Regions from separate parts of the Homo sapiens genome. Here regions 1, 2, 3, 4, 5 and 6 are each linked to region 7. Evidence: promoter capture Hi-C in 16 types of primary human blood cells and fetal thymus (Javierre and others, 2016). All regions are on one chromosome and are shown on one strand. The core of a region is centred on a gene start or on the middle of the fragment in contact, and the rest is flanking DNA. Distances in the headings are between cores, read along the strand shown.

What was found. The method cuts DNA at HindIII sites, captures the fragments that hold promoters and counts their contacts. A CHiCAGO score of 5 or more calls a contact.
Region 1: a contact is called between a fragment that was not itself captured here and the fragment with the promoter of KCNQ5-AS1 in region 7, in 5 of 17 cell types (total B cells, naive B cells, naive CD8 T cells and 2 more). The highest score is 9.5, in total B cells.
Region 2: a fragment that was not itself captured here is called in contact with the fragment with the promoter of KCNQ5-AS1 in region 7 in 12 of 17 cell types (naive CD8 T cells, non-activated CD4 T cells, total B cells and 9 more); the score reaches 9.4 in naive CD8 T cells.
Region 3: a contact is called between a fragment that was not itself captured here and the fragment with the promoter of KCNQ5-AS1 in region 7, in 2 of 17 cell types (total B cells and naive B cells). The highest score is 5.4, in total B cells.
Region 4: a fragment that was not itself captured here is called in contact with the fragment with the promoter of KCNQ5-AS1 in region 7 in 8 of 17 cell types (total B cells, naive CD8 T cells, naive B cells and 5 more); the score reaches 9.9 in total B cells.
Region 5: a contact is called between a fragment that was not itself captured here and the fragment with the promoter of KCNQ5-AS1 in region 7, in 17 of 17 cell types (naive CD8 T cells, total CD4 T cells, naive CD4 T cells and 14 more). The highest score is 16.4, in naive CD8 T cells.
Region 6: a fragment that was not itself captured here is called in contact with the fragment with the promoter of KCNQ5-AS1 in region 7 in 17 of 17 cell types (naive CD4 T cells, naive CD8 T cells, naive B cells and 14 more); the score reaches 33.9 in naive CD4 T cells.

The regions. Positions count from the first base shown.
Region 1 is chr6:72,346,698-72,349,986 of GRCh38, reverse strand. All of the region lies in intron 29 of RIMS1 (regulating synaptic membrane exocytosis 1), which reads right to left. Among named protein-coding and RNA genes, the nearest start is that of KCNQ5, 270 kb to the left of the region's middle. The HindIII fragment of the contact is 1,498 bases long and covers 788-2,285 here.
Region 2 is chr6:72,428,401-72,431,762 of GRCh38, reverse strand. No RefSeq gene overlaps it. Among named protein-coding and RNA genes, the nearest start is that of KCNQ5, 190 kb to the left of the region's middle. The HindIII fragment of the contact is 1,633 bases long and covers 1,083-2,715 here.
Region 3 is chr6:72,317,764-72,321,266 of GRCh38, reverse strand. The region is part of intron 28 of RIMS1 (regulating synaptic membrane exocytosis 1); the gene reads right to left. Among named protein-coding and RNA genes, the nearest start is that of KCNQ5, 300 kb to the left of the region's middle. The HindIII fragment of the contact is 3,193 bases long and covers 319-3,503 here.
Region 4 is chr6:72,363,257-72,366,961 of GRCh38, reverse strand. The region is part of intron 29 of RIMS1 (regulating synaptic membrane exocytosis 1); the gene reads right to left. Among named protein-coding and RNA genes, the nearest start is that of KCNQ5, 260 kb to the left of the region's middle. The HindIII fragment of the contact is 2,209 bases long and covers 168-2,376 here.
Region 5 is chr6:72,390,464-72,393,855 of GRCh38, reverse strand. It overlaps RIMS1 (regulating synaptic membrane exocytosis 1), which reads right to left. Exons shown (of 34, transcript NM_014989.7): 30 at 3,120-3,258; 31 at 1,046-1,158. Among named protein-coding and RNA genes, the nearest start is that of KCNQ5, 230 kb to the left of the region's middle. RefSeq lists a silencer at 2,942-3,142. The HindIII fragment of the contact is 2,229 bases long and covers 468-2,696 here.
Region 6 is chr6:72,410,063-72,413,492 of GRCh38, reverse strand. No RefSeq gene overlaps it. Among named protein-coding and RNA genes, the nearest start is that of KCNQ5, 210 kb to the left of the region's middle. The HindIII fragment of the contact is 1,699 bases long and covers 500-2,198 here.
Region 7 is chr6:73,141,642-73,145,443 of GRCh38, reverse strand. KCNQ5-AS1 (KCNQ5 antisense RNA 1) reads left to right here and starts at 1,930. Exons shown (of 5, transcript NR_046621.1): 1 at 1,930-2,018. All of the region lies in intron 10 of KCNQ5 (potassium voltage-gated channel subfamily Q member 5), which reads right to left. The HindIII fragment of the contact is 1,820 bases long and covers 398-2,217 here.

The DNA of each region.
Region 1 (3,289 bases), core at 287-2,786, 800 kb after region 7:
ATTCACAACAATCTTCTCAATAAGTCTCCAAAACCTATGACAATTAGTATGTTTTCTTCTTTGATTAGCCGAAGATCACAGAATCCTACACTAGTTATAAATCTCTATAAATTTTATGTAATATTTTCTTAAAATGATTCTTCTGTTTTATTTTTCCTTTTTAAAAACAATTGAATAATAGGTTGAGTGTACTTCCCAAGGTAGAAACTATAAACAGGAACTAGTATTTTCAGCAGCAGGTTAAGTTACCTAAAGATGATTAACTTTGTTTTGGCTTTATTTTTCCTGTGGGTTTCTAATCAACCCTTTCCGGTAAGTTTCTAATCAATATCCTTTCCTTTAAAGAATCCTTCCTCATTAGAGTATTTACATCCATTTTCAGTTTCCATAATGCAGGTAGACAGGTCAAATATTCATTCTTACAATTTCAAATTCAGAGTGATAAAAATATTAATATATATGTTAATTTTTATATTTCCCAACTAATATACTTTTACATCATTACATCACTAGATATAGCAGTGTTTCAATGCAACTATATGCCTATTTATAAATGTAACTTTAGTTATTACAAATAAGTTTTAATCTCTTTCAGTTGAAACTTTCCTAAATGTAGTATAATTATTTACTATTTGATTACTTGTCAGAATCTTCATAGTTTCAAATTAAGAGAAAAATAAGTATGGTATTTCCATTTACAAAAACATCCTATGGCACTGACTTTGAATCTGGAACACAGAATGTTTTTTACCTCCTTGTAGACCTAGAACATAAAGTCTGTTAAGCTTCACTAAAACTATGACTAATCATTGGGTGTACCACATTTTTCGGTTGTAAGAAAATAATCTTTACAGTATAAATGATTTTGTAATGAGTATCACAATGTACTGCTTCAATATCAGAGGTTTGTTTCCCAAGTAAGAATTCACTAGCTTACTTGAAAAGCAGTTACAGTAGATCCTTTGTTCACAAGCCTCCTCTGGCCCTATGCCCAACAAAAGAAAGATTCCCAAAAAATCTGGGCATTTTTGCTTAAATACTTAAGTATTTTCATAAGGTTAATAAACCTTTTATAAATGATATAAAAGGATGTTGTAAATTAATATCTTTATCAATCATTATTATTTCTCATAAATGTACATTTTTATCTTTCAATAATTTTCTAATAAAATATTACTTTATTTGACATTTACTGTAATGGTAAAGTAGTTAAATCAGCACCAATTCTGGAGGTTCCACAAAGGGGAGAGGGCAGTAAAGGGAGTGAGTGCTGAAAAAAAGTACCTATCGGGTACAGTGTTTACTATTTGGGTGATGGGTACACTAGAAGCCCAAACCTCACCATTAGGCAATTTATCCATGTAACAAACCTGCAAATGTACCCTCTGAATCTATTAAAAAATCAAAATCTTAAAATGATAATTATTTATTCTTGCTTATAAAAGAGTTAATATTTAAAAGCAATAAGGTAGAATTAACTGGTTAAATCTATCGAGAGCAATGTTCAGGTGCTTTTGAAGTGATATATAAGCAAAGAAGAGAAAGAAAGGAAAAGGGAGGTTGCAAAGTAATAGACAAATCACTTCTACAGTCGTCCGACAGTAAACGTTGGGGATTGACTCCAGGATGACCACCATGTATACCAAAATCAAAGCTATCCCTCCGCATATGCAGGTTTCTATAATATTTCCCATGAATACTTTATTTTGGATTTGCATTTGTTTGACAAAAAAATTTGTGTATAAGCGGGCCTGCGAAGCTCAAACTGCATTGTTTAAGAGTCAACTGTACTTGTTACAACTTAAAAAACATGTTTTTATTTCCTAAGAATAACAAACCAAACATAGAAGAAAAATTTACCCACTAAGAAGAGCTTGCTTGTCACAATGTTAAATGAAATATTATACCATGATTTGATCAATTAATTACCATTTGAGCATTATGTTTTGACTAAGCAAACATCACATTCACCTATCTAACAGACGTTTATCAAGATTCTTCTGCATTAAATGCACTGTTGTGAAAGACCAGAAAAAACCTGTTGCGTGGTCATTACCCTTGATTTACTTCGGAGTTCATTTTGTGACATGAATTCTACAGATGTAAACAGCACCACATGAGAACTCCCTAAAAGTCTTATAGGACTTAAAAAAATTACTTTCGGTCCTGGTAGGAAGTTGATATTTGGGTAGGGCTTGAATGAAGAGAAAGATTTTGACAGACAAACTGACAGATTAAGAATTTTCTGGGTAGAGCACCTGTAGAGAGGTACAAAGAAAGAAGCTTTAAGTTGTGTTCTGTGAACCCCAGGAAGATAGGTCTGATGCATAGAAAGAAATGAAGTTACACATTTAAGAGATGGAACATAAATAAGAATCATTTGCTCATGTCAAATAAAAGTGGACATTTTTTACTATTTTTCTGTTACATACATCACATTGGTTTCACATGTGCACAATATCTGTGGCCTACACCATAAGTTAAATTATTAAAATAAGTTCATATCTATAAACTTTCTGTGATCTACTAAGAACAGTTTGGGGAAATCGAATAGACAGAATTCAGACTGCAGTGAGGGGGACTGAGTGGCCTCAGAAAGAAAGGGAATACAGAAAACTCTTCCAAAAGTTTCTTTCATTCCAGAAAACTTTTCTGTATGTGGTACAGGCTTTGTGCTACATACTGGGATACAATCACTGAAATCACAGACTTGGTCCTTGAGCCCCCAACTGGGAAAATTAGGGTTGAGTGACGTGCTTTTACTACTTTATGTAAACAGCTAAGCCAGGTATCAATTTTAGGGCAAAGTTGAAGATATAAAGAGTCTTATCTATGGGGGCATAAGTCTTCGTTCTGAGAATCACTGTGTCTAACAAGAGATATCAATAGACGTATGGTATAAATGTAAACATGACAGGTATATGGAAAAAAATAAAGTCATGGAAGTAGGGTAAATTAACTCCTGACTCTGAGAAGCAGAGAACAATGATAGAAATGATTATTGTTCACTAATACCTTCTTCTGCATTGCAGGCACTAAGTTGTTGGCCTACAGCAGACCTTAAGGAATGTTCTCCTTAAAGGACTAGACAGTAAATATTTATAACTTTGTGGATTAAGCGGTCTCTGACTTTGTAGCACACAAGTAGCCATAGACAACATGTAAATGAATGAAGATGGCTGTATTTCAATAAAACTATGTTTATTGACATAAAAATTTGATTTCTCAGAATTTTCACATATCACAAAATATTATTCTCATTTTTATTTTTTTAAACCATTTAAAAAAC
Region 2 (3,362 bases), core at 650-3,149, 710 kb after region 7:
TTTCAGACTCTCAGACAGCTTCCATAATGAGGTACACCCTGAGAGAAGAGTATATTATGACCTCATTAATGGAAATAAAATAAAAGGACAGAGATGTTTGAATTGAAACGAAAGTGGGACCTTTCTCATTTAGAGATACAAGATTGACAAAACAGAAGAAAACCTCTGTCCATGTCAGCTTGGGGACAGCAAAAATGCAAGAGCCTGTGGCATTAGGATGGGGGATGTGAGAAGGACTGGGATGGCAGCTTAGGGACACATGGGAGACCTAACAGCAATGTCTGAATAACAATGGCCAAGTCCCACTGATTTAGCGACTAGACACCAAAAGATCTTCACTGTTACTGGGCCTTGTTCATAACCATAACCATTGCTGAATTGGCTAAGGATAAGATCCAAATATCCCACAGATGATTTGAAAACAATGATAATAGTTGTTTGGACTTGACTTCTGTTGTGTAAATGTTGCAAGAGGTTGGTCAAGAATATTGAACAGATGAGTTGGGTGAGGTGGTCTGAGTACATGTGAGTGTGAGCCTATGACTAAAGAGTCAAGGAACAGAATACGCTCAACAGAGGTGAATGAAAATGTAAACCTGGCAATTGTCAAAATTTTGGACAGCCTTAAAACTTTTAAGATGTTGTCACTTTAATATGCCCTTAGGTTTCTACATTTCTACATCTTTCTTTCTTTCTTTCTTTCTTTCTTTCTTTCTTTTTTTTTTTTTTGGACAGGGTCTCACTGTCTCCCAGGCTGGAGTGCAGTGGTGCAATCATAGCTCACTACAGCCTCGACCTCCTGGGCTCAACTGATCCTCCCACCTCAGCTACTTGAGTAACTAGGACTACAGTGTGTGCCACCATGCCCAACTAATTTTTTTTTCATTTTTACTTTTTCTAGAGAGGGGTCTCACTATATTGCCCAGGCTGGTCTCAAACTCTTGGGCACAAGCCTTGGCCTCCCAAAGTGTTGGGATTACAGGTGTGAGCCACCATACCCAACCAGCCTCTACTTTTTTAAAAAAATTACTATCCGTTAAGTAAACAGTGATGATGAAGTAAAATAAAGTTTTGCCAAAGCTTTAGGTATTAAATCTGTTTTAAAAACTCACTTAACTATGAAATTTTACTTTGTTTTTATTTATTTTTTAATTTCCTGGGTATTTTTCTGTTCTGGCCAACTATCTTTGCTTTTTTGGCTTAGGCCAGTGTTTTCTGCTTTAATATAGTTATTATAACCACCATTTTAATGTTCCTGTGATGTTGCAAATGAAAACCCCAAGTCACTTTTATCTTGTGAAAATCATGTGCTAGATTTATTGATGAAAAGGAAAGTGCTTTTATGAGTCCAGTATAGATGCACTCCAGTTATTTAGCATCATAATACTTACTAACTGTGAATATGGTTTTGGCAGAACACACTGTCACCTTTAGGAACATTTCAGTAGGGGCTGGTGGTTATGTGATTGGCGTTATTTTCTCCATGATTACATTTATCAAAAATGAATACATTAAAATTAAACAATCATAATGTTTACCATTACTCTATTACATAAAAGGTAAAATTAGATTTCTGATCATTTATTTTCCCACAATCTGGGTAGTAAATAGAAAAATATTGGTGCATTTTCCACTTCGCACTTATTCCAAAATTGACCATATAGTTGGAAGTAAAGCCCTCCTCAGCAAATGTAAAAGAACAGAAATTATAACAAACTGTCTCTCAGACCACAGTGCAATCAAAAACTAGAACTCAGGATTAAGAAACTCACTCAAAACCACTCAACTACATGGAAACTGAACAACCTGCTCCTGAATGACTCCTGGGTACATAACGAAATGAACGCAGAAATAAAGATGTTCTTTGAAACCAATGAGAACAAAGACACAACATACCAGAATCTCTGGGACACATTTAAAGCAGTGTGTAGAGGGAAATTTATAGCACTAAATGCCCACAAGAGAAAGCAGGAAAGATCTAAAATTGACACCCTAACATCACAATTAAAAGAACTAGAGAAGCAAGAGCAAACACATTCAAAAGCTAGCAGAAGGCAAGAAATAACTAAGATCAGGGCAGAACTGAAGGAGATAGAGACAAAAAAAACCCTTCAAAAAATCAATGAATCCAGGAGCTGGTTTTCAACAAAGATCAACAAAATTGATAGACTGCTAGGAAGACTAATAAAGAAGAAAAGAGAGAAGAATCAAATAGACACAATAAAAAATGATAAAGGGGTTATCACCACCAATCCCACAGAAATACAAACTACCATCAGAGAATACTATAAGCACCTCTACGCAAATAAACTAGAAAATCTAGAAGAAACGGATAAATTCCTCAACACATACACCCTCCCAAGAATAAACCAGGAAGAAGTTGAATCTCTGAATAGACCAATAACAGGCTCTGAAATTGAGGCAATAATTAATAGCCTACCAACAAAAAAGTCCAGGACCAGATGGATTCACAGCCGAATTCTACCAGAGGTACAAGGAGGAGCAGGTACCATTCCTTCTGAAACTATTCCAATCAGTAGAAAAAGAGGGAATCTTCCCTAACTCATTGTATGAGGCCAGCATCATCCTGATACCAAAGCCTGGCAGAGACAAAACAAAAAAAAAGAATTTTAGACCAATATCCCTGATGAACATTGATGCAAAAATCCTCAATAAAATACTGGCAAACTGAATCCAGCAGCACATCAAAAAGCTTATCCACCATGATCAAGTGGGCCTCATCCCTGGGATGCAAGGTGGTTCAACATATGCAAATCAATAAACGTAATCCAGCATATAAACAGAACCAAAGACAAAAACCACATGATTATCTCAATAGATGCAGAAAAGGCCTTTGACAAAATTCAACAGCCCTTCATGTTAAAAACTCTCAATAAATTCGGTATTGATGGACGCATCTCAAAATAATAAGAGCTATTTATGACAAACCCACAGCAAATATCATACTGAATGGGCAAAAACTGGAAGCATTCCCTTTGAAAATGGGCACAAGACAGGGATGGCCTCTCTCACCACTCCTATTCAACATAGTGTTCGAAGTTCTGGCCAAGGCAATCAGGCAGGAGAAAGAAATAAAGGGTATTCAATTAGGAAAGGAGGAAGTCAAATTGTCCCTGTTTACAGATGACGTGATTGTACATTTAGAAAACCCCTTTGTCTCAGCCCCAAATCTCCTTAAGGTGATAAGCAACTTCAGCAAAGTTTCAGGATACAAAATCAATGTGCAAAAATCAAAAGCATTCTTATACACCAATAACAGACAAATAGAGAGACAAATCATGAGTGAACTCCCATTCACAATTGCTTCAAAGAGAATAAAATACCTAGGAATCCAACTTACA
Region 3 (3,503 bases), core at 666-3,165, 820 kb after region 7:
ATTAAAGATGAATACACACAAATGCTGCCTTGATATATCTGTTGTAGTTTACAAAGTAACAAATAATACAACTAATTTGTTGTATTAGTGATTCAGAAAGCTTTGAAAATATTTCCACTAATTATAAGGAAATAGCATATATGCCATCTTGAGGATACATCAAGGTCTATGCTTTCTTTATTCATTATGCTGCATAAGTAGTACGTATACAGTTAGCAAATATCAATCAATCCGCACTTGGTTATCATGTCTATGCTTTAAGAGAGTCTAGCTGAAATCAAGGTAATCATATGTTAAAATGAGTAAAGAAACAAAGCTTTAAATGATGACTTTCTAAATGAATAAAAAAGATAAAGTAAAAATATACTTTAAAAATTTTACTATATTGCTTTAAATTGAACATATATCAAGAGTAGTATAAAAAAGCATAGTATAAAGTCTATTAACTGTACAAGCTGAAGTAATGAGCTTGGAAATAATATATATTTCCCTGGACAATCTATATAATGCTATTTAAAGCTAAAATGCTAAAAAACAATAATAAGTATTTATCTCATATACCAAGTGTATAATAAACATAATATATAGTAGAAAAACAGACCAACTAAGACCAATATAGAACATTCTAGTAGTTTTCTTTTTCTTTGGAATTTGTTTTTTCTTAGTGTATTATACTGAAGTTTCACTATACATTGCATAATCCTTCAGCCAAATTATGGTACTATCTGAATTTTAAAAACAGGTAATAACTAGAGAAGTAGAACCACATCTCATATTTTAATTTTCTCCTTGGAAGTAATAGCACTAGAATTTACTGTGCCATATATTTTGGTTTACAATATGTTTTTAAAGCAGCAGTGCCTGGCTTCCTTTTTAAAAATAAACTACTTCACAGACTTCTGTTGTACTAAACAAATACTAGTAGAACTGCTTTAGTTGAAGTTGCTGAAGTCCTGCAGTCTAGGAATTCTCCTCCCCGTTTAGTTTTTCTCCTGCTCCTTGGACAACTTTCTCCTGTCTATCAGGCAATTCTTGGAGACAATAAGGTTCATTAGAACACCAACAGTCCATGGGCATAACTTTGAAAAACACTCGAATAAAACTGAACTCTTCAAGTGTCAAATCCAACTGTTAAATTCATCCAACTCACCATGAAGCACTGTGAAGTGGATAAGTTAAATATTAGTAATCAAAATTCGAATTTTAAATGCCGTTGCACTATATTATGTGTTAGCCGTCTCTCAGAAGACATTCAAGGATGACTTAAAAGTATAAAGTAACTTATCTAATACTTCATACCATGTATGCAGTAACTGAGTTATAAAGCAAAATGCTATATTTTCAAAGTATTCTGATATACACTATTTCATTTTATTCTCAAACAGTCTGGTAAGGTAGGAGTGGCAGGTATGATTCACATTTTTCAGATGAATATACATTTAATATTATTATTACACTTGTATGAAAATCCACTAAAAACATAGATCTAGGAATCATGTGTTTTGTTTTATACTAGATAGTGTACGGCACCTGCGTATAAGATGTACCCAATAAATGACTGGTGAATAAGTAAATGAATAAATCTATGACTAAGTGAAAAAAAATCAAGGTCTAAAGAAGTTGTACACTTGTTGAATGAAGCTCTCAATATTGGTTAGTAGAAGTACTGAGCCATAGCTGACAGAACCAAAGATTCACATCTGAGTCAAAAGCAGTCTTTAAGGGCAGGCTGGTAGTCTTCACATTGTCCTGGCATAGGAACTCTGATCACAAGATGCTGTTTATTCAGCAATCACTAACCATTCCCTTAACTTCAGGCTCACTTCATTCTTCTCCCTTATATTCAATATCCTCTGAGACTTCAGAATCTCTTTCTCAGTTTGAGCTGTATCAACCTTTACCTCCCACATTAGTTCTTCATTCTCCTCCTTCCATTACACCTCATGACTGAAATGGTCCTGTCTCTGCTGGCACTCTCTTCTTTCCTGAAAGTTTTCCAGTTCTTGGCTCCCTTCACCATCTCCTTCTATGTTCCTGATTGTTATTTTTCTTAAGCCCCTTAGATATTACTTCCAGTTTAACATCCAACTCTGCTTGCTCTGCCTTGGCATTTGCCCTCTAACTTGGGATAAAGTCTCTAGGGCCATGATCCTTCTTACTTTTCACACCTACATGTTTTTTCTTATTTATTAATTATTTTTAAATATTATCCTTTTCAAGTAAGCAAATTTAAAAAAAAATTTTAAAAAATGGTAACACATCAAATATGAACTATTTCTGGCAGTATGGTAGATGATATATTCTGATTCTAAAAAATCCTTTCACTTCCAAATGCCTAGTAATTATGATGGGAAAATTACAACAAATGCCTGTTAAAATACCAACTTGAGGTCACAAGAAAGAAAGGCATATGTCCTTAGCCAAAAACCAAACGAGAACTAAAACAGGTCGGTAAGTGAATGATGAATCTTTGGAAACCTTTCAGGTCTAGTGAGGAGTTAGAACTGAAATCCTCATGAGTCAAGACCCTTAAAGAACAACAAGGAAAAACGTGTGTCTCAGTCTAAGCTCTCACAGACCCTCACTGGTGGCTTTCTAATGCACTTTTCTCAGAGAGGAGAATGATCCAGAATGAAGGTCTAAGATGCACGAAAAATGGTTAGCAAAGAAACTAGAATACATATGGTTTAATATAAGGCATTTAAAAAAATAACATGCAATAAGGGGAAAATGAACCAATCTATAATTAAAACATTGTACAAGAATATGCAAATGGGGGAGGGATAGTAGCACAGCGAAGCATATGACAGTCATTTTTTTTCCTAGGAGAAAGTAGAGGTAATTATTAATTTTAAATTGACTACTTAACAAAATTTATATACTTGAGAAACTAGTCAGTAAAAATCACAGAAACTGCATAATTTCCAGTGTAATGGAGGGGGGAAATGAAAGAAAAATAATTCAATTAAAAACCGATCAGGAAAGAGAAAAAATAGAATAAGAAAAATTAAAAGCATACACCAATATAGAAGTAATTCCAAGTCTATAAGAATCAAAATAAATGCAAATTGATAAGCTAGCCAATTAAATGATAGAGATTGTGTGGTCAGAAAAAAATTAAACCTAGCTATTTGCTGTTTATGTGAGTATAACACATTGGTCATAGAAAAGTTGACACAAAAAGATGTGAACAGTGAATAGTTAGATTGAACACTAACTGAAAATAGCTTGTGTTATCATGTAAGAAAAACTGACTTTAAAACAAAATAATATTATAAGGAATAAAGAGATTTATTACATAATGATAAAAGGTTAAATCGCCAGAAAGACAAAATAATTCTGAACTTGAACCTAATTAAGTAATCTCATATAAGAAAAAATGGACAGAATAATAAAGAAGTTGACAAATCCTCTTCATAGATCTTAACTGAGCATTTTCAGTAAATACCAAATCGAATAGGCAAAAGAGTAGTAAAGCAATTGAAGTTCGGAACAGTGTAGAT
Region 4 (3,705 bases), core at 23-2,522, 780 kb after region 7:
TAGAAATTTGGCTTTTGGCTAGGTTTTATGAAAAGTTATAAATAAACAAACTCCCCTTATAACTTAGTAAATACATATAAGGAACATAGACTTACCTTGTCTATCTTGAAAAAATTAAGTATCAGCATTAAATTGTTCTCTGGGGAAAACTGAATGCCAAAGAAGCTTTGACCTGGTTTAAATAACTTGTGCGGTGGCTGGCTGGAATATCTGTCTGAGCTGCCTGTGAACTGTCTTCTCTGTCTCTCTCCCATTCTCTCTCCTCCTCCCTCACCCTCCGACACTCTCTCCTTCTCATGCATATACAGAATATAATTAAATTGCTTCTGTCAAGAGTGCTTCTTTCCTATAGCTTATTGTAAGACCATGAAGTGTAACATCACTAAGCAAATTTGCCATGTGTCATAAATTTGAAAACTGCTAAAGGGCCACAATTTGAAAACTGCCACAGTCACAACATTTTAAACAAACTATGTAACAAAGACATTTAAATCAAATGAAATGAAAATATGTTGCCTACTTTATTGAATATAATATAGCTTCTCCAATTAGGTAAGAAATCTCAGAGAAGTAAAGCTCAGGGCTAATACGTGATTTCCAGGATAAGTTTGTTTAAAAGGTTTTTACACAATTAAGGGGAAGGTTCTATATCGATCTCTTGTGTTGTACTCACTTGGCACTTGTAATACACATTTAATACACTTAAGCTGTCAAAATTATCACTTTCAATATATACTTATTAAACACTGATAGGTTTCAGCTGCTTTCCCTGTGTCGTTTCACGTCCCACCCTACTGCCACGAGAAAAACACTAGAACACTGGAAATAGAAAAACTTAGAAAAAAAAGGTTCTAACTTCTGTTGAGCACTTTTTACATACCATGCCTTATGCTTAGAGCTTTACACACATTTCCATTAACCCTTATCATAATTCTCTGGTATTGGTATTGCTATGTTTTACATGCATGAGAGGTTCAGAGAGTTAAGAAGTAGTAAGTGTCACAGCTACCACCACAAGTGAAAACAAAACCCTCCAAAACACAACCAAATTCTAAGGCCCGTCTTCTTCAAACGTGTGTAAGCTCTTTAAGCTCTTTTTATAACATCATGTTCATGGAAGGAATATGGAAACAACAGGATTTTACCGTAAGAGCATATTTCTGTGTGGCTCCTCCTCACCTCCATAATGGCACTAAGGAATTAAAAACATTAGAGTCTAGAGTGTTCTGTTTTTCCTCTTTTTCCCTCCAGGGCTGTGTCAACAGCATGAAGGAGTAAAAGTCAGCAAGAGTGATCATTTTTCATGGTTAACCAGGATAATCCTGGTTTATGCCTGTTCTAGCATATTACTAATGGTGGCCCTCTTTTACTTACAAAGATATTCCAGTTTGGATGCTAAATTATATAGTCAATAGACATATAAGTGGTAGAGCAATACAAGTTAAACTAAACCTGCCTCAAAACTGCAAGTGATATTTTGGAATTTTGACAGGACTGGTATTAAAATTGAAATGGCAAGGGATGAAGTCTATGTAATTCAAAAGTTTAGCCTACTGGTACCTTGGTAAACAATGTATCTGCCTCTCAGAACTTGGAGTATTTATCTGGGTTTATAGAAGGCTGCCATATCCATGTGGAATGCCATGGTTGGGTGCCCTGAATAAAGGTGGAATATAAACAGTGTTAAAATCCTGCCAGAGGACCCCAGCAGGGAAGAGAAGGCACAGAGAAAGAACGTAAAAGAATGGCTTCCTCAAGCACATACTGCAAATTTGAACAAATCAGAAATGAAATAACCTCATAGAACTTGTGGTTGGGCAAAGAGCACTTTTGTGCCTTAGAGCCCCTCACTGGCTGGGCACCTCTGTGCAAAGACCAAACCACACAATTAGGTGGAGACTCTGGGTAGAAAACTACGGGAGCAGATGCTATTGGTATCCTGGCTATGCCCCGTAGACATTCACTGTTCCTGTATGCAAGGATGCTGTCTTACTGGAAGCACCTCCAACCCTCTGCTGAGGGTTCCTTCCAATTGTGTAGTCAGCTGTGAGCATAAGGAAAGCAGGCCTGAAGAAGTCAGTGACTCTGCAAGCAGTCCCATAGCCAAGGACAAATGAGAGATGTTGGATAAATCCTACAATTTCCTCACGCTCAGAGGAAACACTTCTCATAGTCTCCCATAGAACCCCAATTGCCTACAGCAGAAATCTGATAATTAAACACCGTATTTTGACTTCCTTTCCCTGTCTCATTTCCCCACAATCAATACTCGTGCTTCCCGGGGATCAACTCTCAAATAAACTACTTGCACTCAAATCTTTGTTTCAGGGTCTGTTTTTAGGGGAGCCTGACCAACACAGTTGCCAAAGAGAAGCTTACTCTACTTTGTAAGGCTGGAGGACTATGTGGTTTAGCCAATATTTGAGAAAGATAAGAGAATTTTTCATGAATTAGTCAATTGATTAGTATTTTATAAAGATTAGAATGACATAACTTTTATTTGCCACAGACTATAAACGATTCACATTTCACAGGTAGCATGCGGGGACTGCACATAGAGTACAGCCTCCTTCAGATACTCATGCTCTATGGAATAATTTTTATATGGCTATCCATCTTGACTATTTTTAAAGGTGTAATTAGATCTTGATCAACAGAGAAATGTATCCCAGTGATACATTTCCTCGTTATAATGTGTCAGAAGGGGCAGTAAGCTTTTACAAAACAGTGTAAAAAGCTGGATAAAGATATGCAAAAACCACAGAGAAAACAAGTGATGTCACTGGCAATATTAGGGCAGAAAAACAGGAAAGCCAGAATAGAGTTATTTTAATAGAAGTAAAAGAGAGGGCTTGGCCTATTGCCAGGCTTGAAAAGGCAAAAGGAAAGGCCCAGAGTGGAGGAGTTGGTGCCAGGTGACTCATCTCAAGACACCTCATGTTCCATGGAATCTGGTGAGGAAGGCATGGTGCCTCTGGGATCAGCAGTCTTGGAGTGTTTAAGCCCACAGGAACGGGAAGCTGTGTGGGATGAGGTTGCCTTTCCTCCCCCACACTACCACCAAGTACTAAATCAAATAATCTTTAAAATCAGTTAAAGAAATCTTGGTGTGATTTGAGAAGGAGCTTTTTAATACCCGAATTATCCCTTTAACCAGTTGGTTGATGCCTGAAATGCCTGTATTTAGGGAAACTGTTTTCATTATACAATTTGAAATAAAATGCAAACCCCTGGTTAAAGAAACAAGCCAAATGAATCTCAGCACAAAAGCAGTCAATGAGGTATGCTTTCAATCTTTTTTGTATGTTTCCAGTAGTGCTTAATAAATAATATTTTTTAAAAAAGAGTCATTGTCAATGAAAAGGCATGCATATCAGAATTCTTTTTAGAAGCTAATTAACTTGTCTTTATATATTTCAACTCCAAATATTTCTCTTCATCCTAACTCATTTTCTTAAATCCACTCTTGCCATTTCCTCTTGCCCCAGCCCCATTCTCCAAACAGGAAAATCTTTAAATCTGCGAATCAAATTATGCACTATCTTTGCTCAAAACCCTTCAATGGCATTCTACTGCACTTTAGATGAAACCAAAATTGCAAACATGGTCACAAAGCCTTACTGGAGCTGGCCCTAACTTGCTCTTAAGAATGTTTTTGCGCCACTTTTTCCCTTTCTCCCTATACTCTACTTTTTTGACCTTTTT
Region 5 (3,392 bases), core at 333-2,832, 750 kb after region 7:
TAGGTTGGAAATCTCTTGTTCCTCCGAATTCTGAAGGTAATGCTAACAGTCTTCTGGCTTCCAGTATATTGAAGAATCCAATGAAAATACGAAGAGCTCAATGAGAATCTGATTTTTTTTTTTTTCTTGGAGACGGAGTCTCGCTCTGTCGCCCAGGCTGGAGTGCAGTGCCCTGATCTGGGCTCACTGCAAGCTCCACTTCCCGGGTTCACGCCATTCTCCTGCCTCAGCCTCCCGAGTAGCTGGGACTACAGGTGCCCACCACTATGCCCGGCTAATTTTTTTTGTATTTTTAGTAGAGACGGGGGTTTCACCGTGTTAGCCAGGATGGTCTCGGTCTCCTGACCTCGTGATCCGCCTGTCTCGGCCTCCCAAAGTGCTGGGATTACAGGCGTGAGCCACAGCGCCCGGCAAGAATCTGATTTTTGATAGTTTTTTTGTAAAATTATTTTTCCTCTTAGGAAGCTTGCATGATTTTCTATCAAGCCTCAGTATTGTGAAATTCCACTATGTTGTGTCTTCAAGCTGATCTATTTTCATGCATTTTGCTGAAGTTCTTTCCCACTGCAAGATTACAGACAGATTAACTTAAGTGTTCTCCAGTACTTTTTAGTGTTTTTCTCCACCTTCCCTTTTCTTTTTTATAGTTGAGTCTAAAATACTAACTTTTTTGGTAAGTTGTGTAGGCGTGAGGGAATTCCATTAATTTTTTCACACAGGTAAATAGTTATGTTACTATACTTTACTGAACAGTCTTTTTTTTTTTTTTTCCATGCTGTGAAATGCCACCCATGTCCTACATTTACATCTATTATATCAGGGTTTCTGGTAATTCAAATATTTATAGCTAATTTTACTTCTTTTTTCATAACATCTCAAATTAGAAAAATGCACTTGAAATTAGAATAGTTGTTTGCAAACAGTAACTCTGTAGCTAAAATGTTGCTTCTCACTTGTATTGCTATTACACAATTTTAAATATTTTAAATGACTTTGTCAAACACAAAACATCAATTTTCTTGTAGAAAAAAAAAATGATTCTTACCCATTGCAGGGGTGGCAAGGGTTTGGCGGCCAACAAGCTGGGCTGGTCCCAATCCATCAAGAAAATCACTGAATTGACTGTCAGCTCCCAGTCGCACTCCAGGAAATATTAAACTATCAGCAAAAGGATAAAAACCAAAGGAAAAAACCCATGAAATCTTCTAGAATTCTTTTCACTAGTTTCCACTTGACTAATTATGATCATGAAACATAAATATTACTTAGACAATCTGTTTTTTTAATTGATTCTTTGCATTGCCTTTGAGCCAAGCATATGAGGCTTAACATTGACTGAGGAAAGGTGTAAACTCTCAATTTAACACCTAATGCTCTATTCAAGAGGGCTCAGTTATAGTTTTTAATATACCAAGTTCCAAATCCTTATATAAATGTGTTGCTGACAAAAAAACATAAGATGCGAATTTTTATATCATAAACTTCACACAGATACTTGCTCATGAACATTAGGTAACATTCATGCTAAATTTTTAAAGTGGCCAATAATTTCTTGAATAAATGTTATAACATAGTTCAAGTTCTTATTTATAAACATTTAATTGATTCAAAGATGAATTATTTGAGACTTTTATTTGGTTCCAATGGAAATTAATTGGTTAAAAAATCTGTATTTCTTCCTATAATACAACTTCCTGATAGCCCCAGGATGTAAGCTGCACAAGGGCAGTGCCTGTTCTCTTCTTGTTGACTGATGTAGTTATCACTGGGTAATGACAACTATGCTCATTATGTGATAGGCATTCAATAAGCATTTTTTGAATGAGCATATTTCTATAGAGACTTACTCTTTCCATTGTGCTTTCACATCTATTATTTCTTTTAACCAAGGAAATTAAATGGGACACAGATTATAATCCCATCCAGAGACCATGAAAATAAATCCAAGAGATTAAATGGTTTATGATGGAGGCAAATTTTATTTGTTACTTTTTTATATCAGAAAATGATGTGTTCAAGTCTCATTTGTATATTACTTTATGCTACTTCATCAAATATGGGTATTTTGTCAGTAAGTTTATCTCTGTAACTTTCATACCTGCTGATTTTTGTTCTTATATTCCTTACTGGAAACATGCATAACAAGCCAATCATTTGACCAACTAAACAGAGACCAACTAGTTTCAGGAATGGGAAGGAATATCACAAACAGTAACTTGGCATAATTCTGTTAAATTTTCTAAACAATATAGAAAAATTCCAGTAAAGACAAGAAATTAGAAATATCAAATTGGTATATGAGTAATGTGAATGGTAATGAACAAATAATTATGGAAAATTTATATGTGGTGAATCTCCATGTAATCCAAAACAACACATTAATTACTTATTTGTAAGATCCACTACCTCAATAAAAATTCAATTTTACCAGAAATATTCTCAAGCATAGGAAGAAGCAGGTTTTGTGCAGGATCCATATGAAATGGTAAAAAAAAAAAAAAAAGAAAAAGAATCGAAAAGAGTAAATTTTTAAAAATCGTATTCTATTTTTTCAGAATTAACTAAAACATTTTAGTCAGAAAAATAATGAAGCTGATAGACCCTGGATTATTTCCTAAGGTAAAAATGAGTCAGCAATGTTTTAAAAACAAGAAAATGTAACTTACATATATGACAGTGTTAGACTTAGAAAAGCTTAGGGTCCAAAATAGCTTGGAGAAAATTAAGAAAATGGGAAATCAGTTCCTTACTTATAAATTTTAACTTGGACTTTGGTGACAGGGACAGACTATGAGTTTCCCATATGAAAGAGTCCATTACCTGTGGCATTTGTACACTAAACATCCAGTAAGGAACTAGTCTGGGCTTTCCTAGATGCAAGAAATCAATTTGTTCATGTGGACTCAGAATTTCTTCACCCTTTGAAAGGTATGAATGACCAGGTGTAGAGGTGTGTCCATGTGTACTTACTTATAAGCCATCAGGGTGGTTTAAAATGGATGGTTGAACTTCTGATTAAATAGAGAAGCTGCACAGTAACACTCAGTGGCTTTGTTATCTTACTGATTAGTACACAATTCCTGGTTCCACAGCCATGCAGACGTGCTGACAGCACTTACTTGCCCTCAGAGCTGTAACTGTTGATGCTGCCATCAGTAGACTCTCGGCTCGGCTGCCTTACCATCTTTCTCATTTCAGCTGCCATGCCTGTTTCTGTGCTTCTCTGGATGGTACTTTTTAACTTTTTGTGGCCCGACTCTGACAGGAGAGAGTAAAAGAAACTCTAAGTTTTATTTAGACAGTTTACTCCTGAATATCAATTGATCCTGCAAATACAATAGTTAATTTTACACATAATTACAAATTTAATCAGAAAAATAGTAACCTAAGGG
Region 6 (3,430 bases), core at 100-2,599, 730 kb after region 7:
CTCCACATTGATTGAAATTCCATAATCATGGTGAGAATAATTAGAGTGGTGTCAAGGAATCTCCTACCTCCCACCTGTAGTGGGTTGAATGATGACCCCCATCCCAAAATAAAAGTCCACTCAGAACATCTGAATGTGATCTTATTTGGAAGAAAGGTCACTGCAGATATAATTAAGGTAAGGATATTGAGATGAGAAGGCCTTGACTTAGGGTGGGCCCCAAGTCCAATGACAAACGTCCTTATAAGAGATCAAAAAAGAAGAGAGGGGGCACCTGGAGGCCATGTGAGGATGGAGGTAGAGACTGCAGTTCTACTGCCACAAGTCAAGGAGTGCCAGTAGGCTCCAGGAGCTGGGAGTGGGCAGGAAGCATTCTTCCCTGAGGCCTTTGGAGGGAGTGTGGGTCTGCTGTCACCTTGATTTCAGATTTCTGGCCTCCAGAACGGTAAAATAAGTTCTTGTTTTAAAAAGAAGTTCTTGTCGTTTTAAGCCACAAGCTTTGGGTACTTTGTTGTGGCAGCCCCCGGAAAGAGTGCGCAGCCCCTTACGCACCTTCCAGTGGTGGCTCATGGTCCAGCCTTGAGAAGTTCTCTCCCTGCTGCTCATGCCTCCTCTCTGCCCCCCTGTCCCGGGTACTTGGCCTTGGCGTGGCCTGTCCACACATGGCTGTGCTTGAGCATGGTGGCATTGGTCCCAGGGACAGGGCAACTTTATTCCATAAGTGGAAACGACAGAGATTCTCTGACCACACACACCTGGGGACTGGAAATGAACCTATAATCTCAAGGGAGGTGAGTCAAAACTCAGAATTCATTCACCAAAACAAAACCTCTTGATTGATTCTTGGTGGAGATAAAGATGAAAAAGATTTGAGTATGCATATAATTATAAAATACTTATACTGTATTCTCAAGCAGATATTTTTACACCATATAAAAGGCAGTTGCCCCACAAGATTAGTCCTTAACCTTAAGGTTTAGTCAGTCCTAGTTAAATTTTCCCTACTGAAGGCTAGCGCATCAGCATTGACTCTCAAAAGATCCCTCTGCATTCAGCGTCTTCTCGGACCTGCACGAAGCACTGCTGCCATCTTGTGGCTGAGATGCGCCACTACACCCGCTTATTTTATGAGGTTCTAGCTCTCACCAACAGAGGGCAGGGTTGAGGCCCCTGCCTGCAGACAAACCCTTGTTCATAATTTTGAGCCAAATGCTAGTGTGGCAGAGTGAGATTTCTTTTTAAACTAAATTTTGAGAAGAACCAGGTAATACAACTGCTATTTGCCTGTTAATAAAGCAGGGGAAATTCACAAATATTTCACAGCCTCCTAGGAGGTGAGAACATGCCACTAGATACACTATTTTGAATTTCCTATTTTCCTACTTCCTATCCATCTGATGCCCTAATGGCAGCTAACAGGGAGGAGTCCAGCGTGGGAAGGTGAGGAGGGTTGGGATTGCAGGAGGCCAGGTGATACCCTGACACTGGGCTTCCTGTTACCTTTGGAACTGAGAGGCAATCCAACCCTAAAGTGGTAGAACTTTGTTTAACTCTCCAACAACTAGGGTTCTGATAGCCTGATTTCCTAGGAAAGAGGATTTATGTAGCTCAGAGTTATATTTGGTTTGTGGTTGCTATTAGAGTAAAAGAATCAGGCCTGGTGTGGTGCCTCACACCTGTAATCGCAGCCCTTTGGGAGGGCAAGGCAGGAAGACTGCTTGAGGCCAGGAGTTTGAGACCAGGCTGGCCCACATAGTCCGACCCCCATCTCTAAAAAAAACTTAAAAACTAGCCATGTGTGGTGGTGCATGCCTTTTGTTCCGGCTACCGAGGAGGCTGAGGCTGAGCCTAGAAGTTTGGGGCTTCAGTAAGCCATGATTGTACCACTGCATTCTAGCTTGGGTGACGGAGCGAGATATTGTCTCAAAAAAAAAAAAAAAAAAAAAAAAAGAGAGAGAGAGGGAGAGAATCTATCTTTCTTAGTCTCCATCTATCTTTTCACAAAAGTGAAATTTGCCTGACTGACCCGCATCAACATCCCCCTTCACCTACCCCCAATAAAATCGTCAAACAGAGCAAAGCTCAGAGCAAGAGTGAAGGTTCTGGGGCCTTCCCATTTGTCCTGCCTCCTTCCTCTTCCATCATTGTCTAAAGAAAGGCTCAAAGAATGTTTCTTAATTCTTTATAATTGGAAAGCTTTCATCAAGAGTGTTTTAAAGAAAAAGAAGTGCATTTCTGGAGCATTACTCTAGGGTCACCAACTTATCAATTTTAATCGATGAATCAGAGATCTAGACTGAAAAATCATGAGTGTTTTTGCTGGTTTTACTTAGTAGATAGAAAGGCCAGTGGAAAGTGTGGCCCGTCACAAGGCTCTGCTTTCCAGGCCTGGGCATTCAATCTTTCTGTGCAAACTGAGCTCCTCCAACCCCTGCATCACTTGGAGGTGGGACCGGCTTCATAGGCCTGGGTCCTGGGCAGTCACACCAGCCCTCGCACTCAGGAGGCCTGCTCTTGGCTTCACGCTCTGCTGTTGCTATCTTGAAAATCTTAAGAATTTTTTAACATGCGGGCTCAGATTTTTATTTTGTACTAGACCTCGTAAATGACATAATAGGTCCTGCCTGGGAGTGTGTTAGAGATGCATTATCTGAGGCCTCATCTTGGACTTCTAAAATTGAATGTGTATTTTAACAGGATCCCAAGGTAAATGGTTGCAACTTTAAAATTTGAGCACTGATCTTAGCTGCCTATGAAGTTGTGGTGGCAGAACGCAGATGAGTGAGCAGGGGGTGAGTCCTTGGCAGAGAATGCAGGGGAAGATCTGCCTTCTCCTCTTCAGAATGGAAGAATCAAAAAGCAGAGAGCCTGGGGGTGGGGGGCACTTGGGAGATGATGAAATTCAGGGAGAGAGAGGAGAGTAAGTGGAAATTGTTTTACAGTACAGGAACCAGCTCTCATAAACCATTTCCTTTATAACTTGGTGACCTGTCATAAATTTTTGAAAAACTTAGTTCTAACATTGGAGCACAAAAGTGAAATTGAACCATGACTGACCACTGTTTCTCTGGCTTTAGGATATAGCCTGACCATTGTTGAGCTATTGCTCTACTATGGAATGAGACAGGATTCCCCATTGATCCAAGTTGCCCTTTATCCCTCCACTGTTTCTAGACATTTTCCCCTCTGTTACCCTTCTAGCTCTCAAATCTCCAACCCTTCCAAACTCAACATGCACACTTTGCTTTATGTCATCGGGGGGTTACACATTTACAAAAGAACATCTTGGAAAATACTTTTACTTCAGCCTGTAGCTGCTTTCAGAAGGATAAGAAAACCCCAAGGAAAAGGGGACTCCAATAGTTTAACTGCCAGAAATACAGGTGGTGGATTTATAAAGTCAAAATTAATTTGTAATTTTAAAATTTAC
Region 7 (3,802 bases), core at 681-3,180:
TGGTTTATACTGTTTCATTAGCAGCATGAATTATATGAAAGAAAACATGCTAAGCAGCATGCATGGTAGAACATAAAAAGCTTTGAACTTAGACCTAAGTGCAACTTCAAACCCCAGTTTTGGCATTTAGACTGAATTATGTGGGCAAGTTATTTACATTTTCTGAGTCTCAATTTCCTTATCTGCAAAATGGCTATGTGTGTATTAAATGAGCCAATTCATAGAAAATGTCTAGCCAATGCCTCGATACATGAGGTGCTAACAATGCTATTTTCCTTTTCTTTCTTAGGCTCTTTGAGTGAAGGATACTACAGGGAGAAATAAAAAAGTCAATTAGACACTGACACTGTCTTCATAGAACCAACAGGATGTTGAAAATACTAAAAGCAAATAAGCTTTAAATGGCTGGGATGGTAGATTGCAATACTGGCCACGACACTTGCAGCTTCTCACATGAAGAGGTGGAATCTCTTTCTCTGTCTCTTGCATGTGGGCTGTCCTTGCCATTTGCTTTGACCAACAGGACATAGTGGACATTATACTGTGATAGGTTGAGCCTGAACTTCAAGAGGCCTTCAGATATCAATGTACTGCTCTTGGGAACCCACCACCACCATGTGAACCAGCCCAGCCTGCTGGAGGATGAGAGACCACATGAGCAAAGAGCAGTAATTCTAACTGAGACCACCTTAGTCCAGTCAGCACCAGCCAACACAGCAGCTGAACACAGAGCATGAGTCAGTTCACTTAAGACCAGAAGAACTGCCTAACAGAATTGTGGGCTAAACAAATGGTTGCTGTTTTAAGCCACTAAATCTGAGGGAGAGGGTTAGCTATGCAACAGATAACATGAAGAGATATAGGGTCATGACATTTTTCAATCAAAACACAAAATTATGGGAACAATAGTTTCAAAAGAGTTTTGGGAATGATTAGTCATCAATTCCAATAGAACGATGTGGTATAACAATTGCTACTGCATTAGATTAATGAAAGACGCAAATCTCAGGGTTTCATGTGCAAATGATTCTCTTGGTAGCTGGAGGTAGAGAGATTAATTTTTCCCAGGTAATGTTATTCTGAGGTTTCTATGCTTTTGGAGTTCAGAAATTGTTGTTATGCATTATACATGGCAAAAGAAGAAAAAGATGGCAAGGGAAGAAAAGCCGAACAAATTAGATGTTGAAAATAAAATACCTGTAAAAGCAATTTGGGACAATGTCAGGGAGTTTTATACTGCAGGTAGCAAAAAGCAAAGCCTGGGTAACTCATCTCTTTCCCATGTCAGTCATCCATTGCAGAAAAAGGATCCTGGCCTTTACTTAACCTTGTTTCCCCCCTTCTTTACCAAGTAGAGCACACCATGAAAGCGATTAAATATAATTTTAAAATTGTGTCATATTGGTTTCTGTTTATGCAGCAGACAACTAAGTGTGACTTTGAAGGAAATAATTTGAGATATATGAAGGAAAAATCACCATGCAGCTGAAAAGTGCTTCTCTTAAATATGGGCTAAATTCTGTGATTTGTGTAATGGTTAATTTTGTGCTTATTTTGTGCGAATTTTGGACGTCACCCACAGGTTATTTCTGAAAACTATGAAGTCTGAAGAATGAGGAAGGTGCCTTTTGTTCCCCTCAGTGCCAATCAATACTGTAACTGAGGTGGGCTGGGGTGGTAAAACTTACAGACAAACAGTAAGTTCTTTGGGGTGACAGTTGTCACGCCTCCTCCCTGCCTTCTAAATGCCCAGAAACATGCTAGCTCTGAGTAGCAGCCCTCAAATACCTTCTGATATGAATTGAAATCCAGTGGAGGGCTTATTCAAGTTCTAAGAATGAGCCGCTATGGAGCACACACATAAACCTCACAATGGTGGGTGGGACACACCTGATACACTTCTTAGGACAGAAAGGACTATGGCTGACAGTGAAAGTGGAAAAGAAACAGTGGGAGGAATGAGAGGCAAGAAGCAGCGGGTAGCACTTTTCTCGGTATCAAAGAGACGTGAAACTAGGGTAAGGACAGAAAACTCACTCCTGGCATTCCTCAGCCAATCCTTGCTTTCCTCTTCTATTTCTTAGTATAGAATTGCTAGTGAGGATACGAGTTAATGGCTAAGGAAGATACTTTGCATTGGTCCAGAAGAGCAGATTATAAAAACTCAGATTTGGAAGAAAATTTCTTAGAGGTTTTCTGGTTTGATCTCCTTAAGCTTCCAGAAATTCCTGACTGTTGATCATCCAACTTTGATTTGAATGCTTCCAATTATGGAATCCACTCAATTGCTGTGGAGTCTCTAAGTGCTAAGCTGCCATTATATTGAACTAAATATTGGTATCACACACCTTTTAGTTCTGCTTCTGCCCTTTGAAGCAACCAAGAACATATCTTCAACCTCTTGAAAAGCTGAAGAGGGGCCATACATTGTACAAGAAAGAGAGCTGCGTTAGAAGTTATGACACTTTGGTTTTGCAACTGACTAGTTCATGTCCTGCTCCCTCAATTTATTTATTTATTTATTTTCGAGATGGAGTCTTGCTCTTGTCGCCCAGGCTGGAGTGCAAGGGTGCAATCTCAGCTCACTGCAACCTCCTCTTCCTGGATTCAAGTGATTCTCCTGCCTCAGCCTCCTGAGTAGCTGGGATTACAGGTGCCCGCCACCACGCCTGGCTAATTTTTGTATTTTTAGTAGAGACAGGGTTTCACCATGTTGACCAGGCTGGTCTCGAACTCCTGACCTCAGGTGATCCATCCCCCTCAGCCTCCCAAAGTGCTGGGATTACAGGCATGAACCATCGCACCTGGCCTCCTCATTTTATTTAACTTGTTGCTGCAGTAATCACATACTCAATATTTTGTTAATATTCCTTTTGAGAGTCTGCACTAAGAGTGGAATATAATTGCGTAGCTATAGGTTGAGGCCAGGATTTTTTTTTTTTTTTGAGATATAATACAAAGGATACTGGACATAAAATGGTTAGACCAGAAGTTATAAACCCATGTCGTTAAAGGCAGGTAGGTAACGGAGAGGTCGAAAGGAATGGGGAATTGGTGGTTTGGGTTCCTGGAAAGACAATAGGGACTGGTTGAAATCTGCAATTTAAAAGACATAATCTATCTGAAGGCATTTGTGGTAGCCTGACTCTAACATGGTCCCCAGTGGCCCTCATCTCCTGGTATTACCCCCCTGTATAGTCCCTGCCTACACTGTACAGGGTTGGTCTTTGTGACCACTTACACATGAAAGAAGCGATGGCATAACACTTCTGAGCTTATGTCATAAAAGACTGCAGCTTCTCTCTGCGTACTCTCTCAGCTCTCTCTGGGGGAAGCCAGCTGCATGTCATATGGACATTCAGGCAACCTAGGGTGTGAATAATGTGGCAAGGAAATAAAAGGCCTGCTAGCAAATGCTCAGTTGAGCTTGGTAATGGGTCCTCTCCCAGCATCTCCAGCCAAGAGCTTGACTGCAACCTCATATGAGATTTTGAGCCATAACCATTCAGCTAAACTGCTTCTGGATACCTGACCATAGAAACTGTGAGATTATAAGTATGTGTTATTTCAAACCACTAAATTGAGGGTAATTTGCTATGTAACAATAGATAACTAATACAGCATTCAGATTCATTTTAAAGTATCAATGTGGACATGCACACACACTTTGCTGATGAAACAAAATATAGGGCTCCAGTTTATAACCCTGGGTTTCTCAATGAAACCTGGATCTACAGAAGCCAAAAGGTATGGTTAAGGCAGCACTCGAAGGTCATTTGGCAGCTCAGTTTCTGCTGGAAGG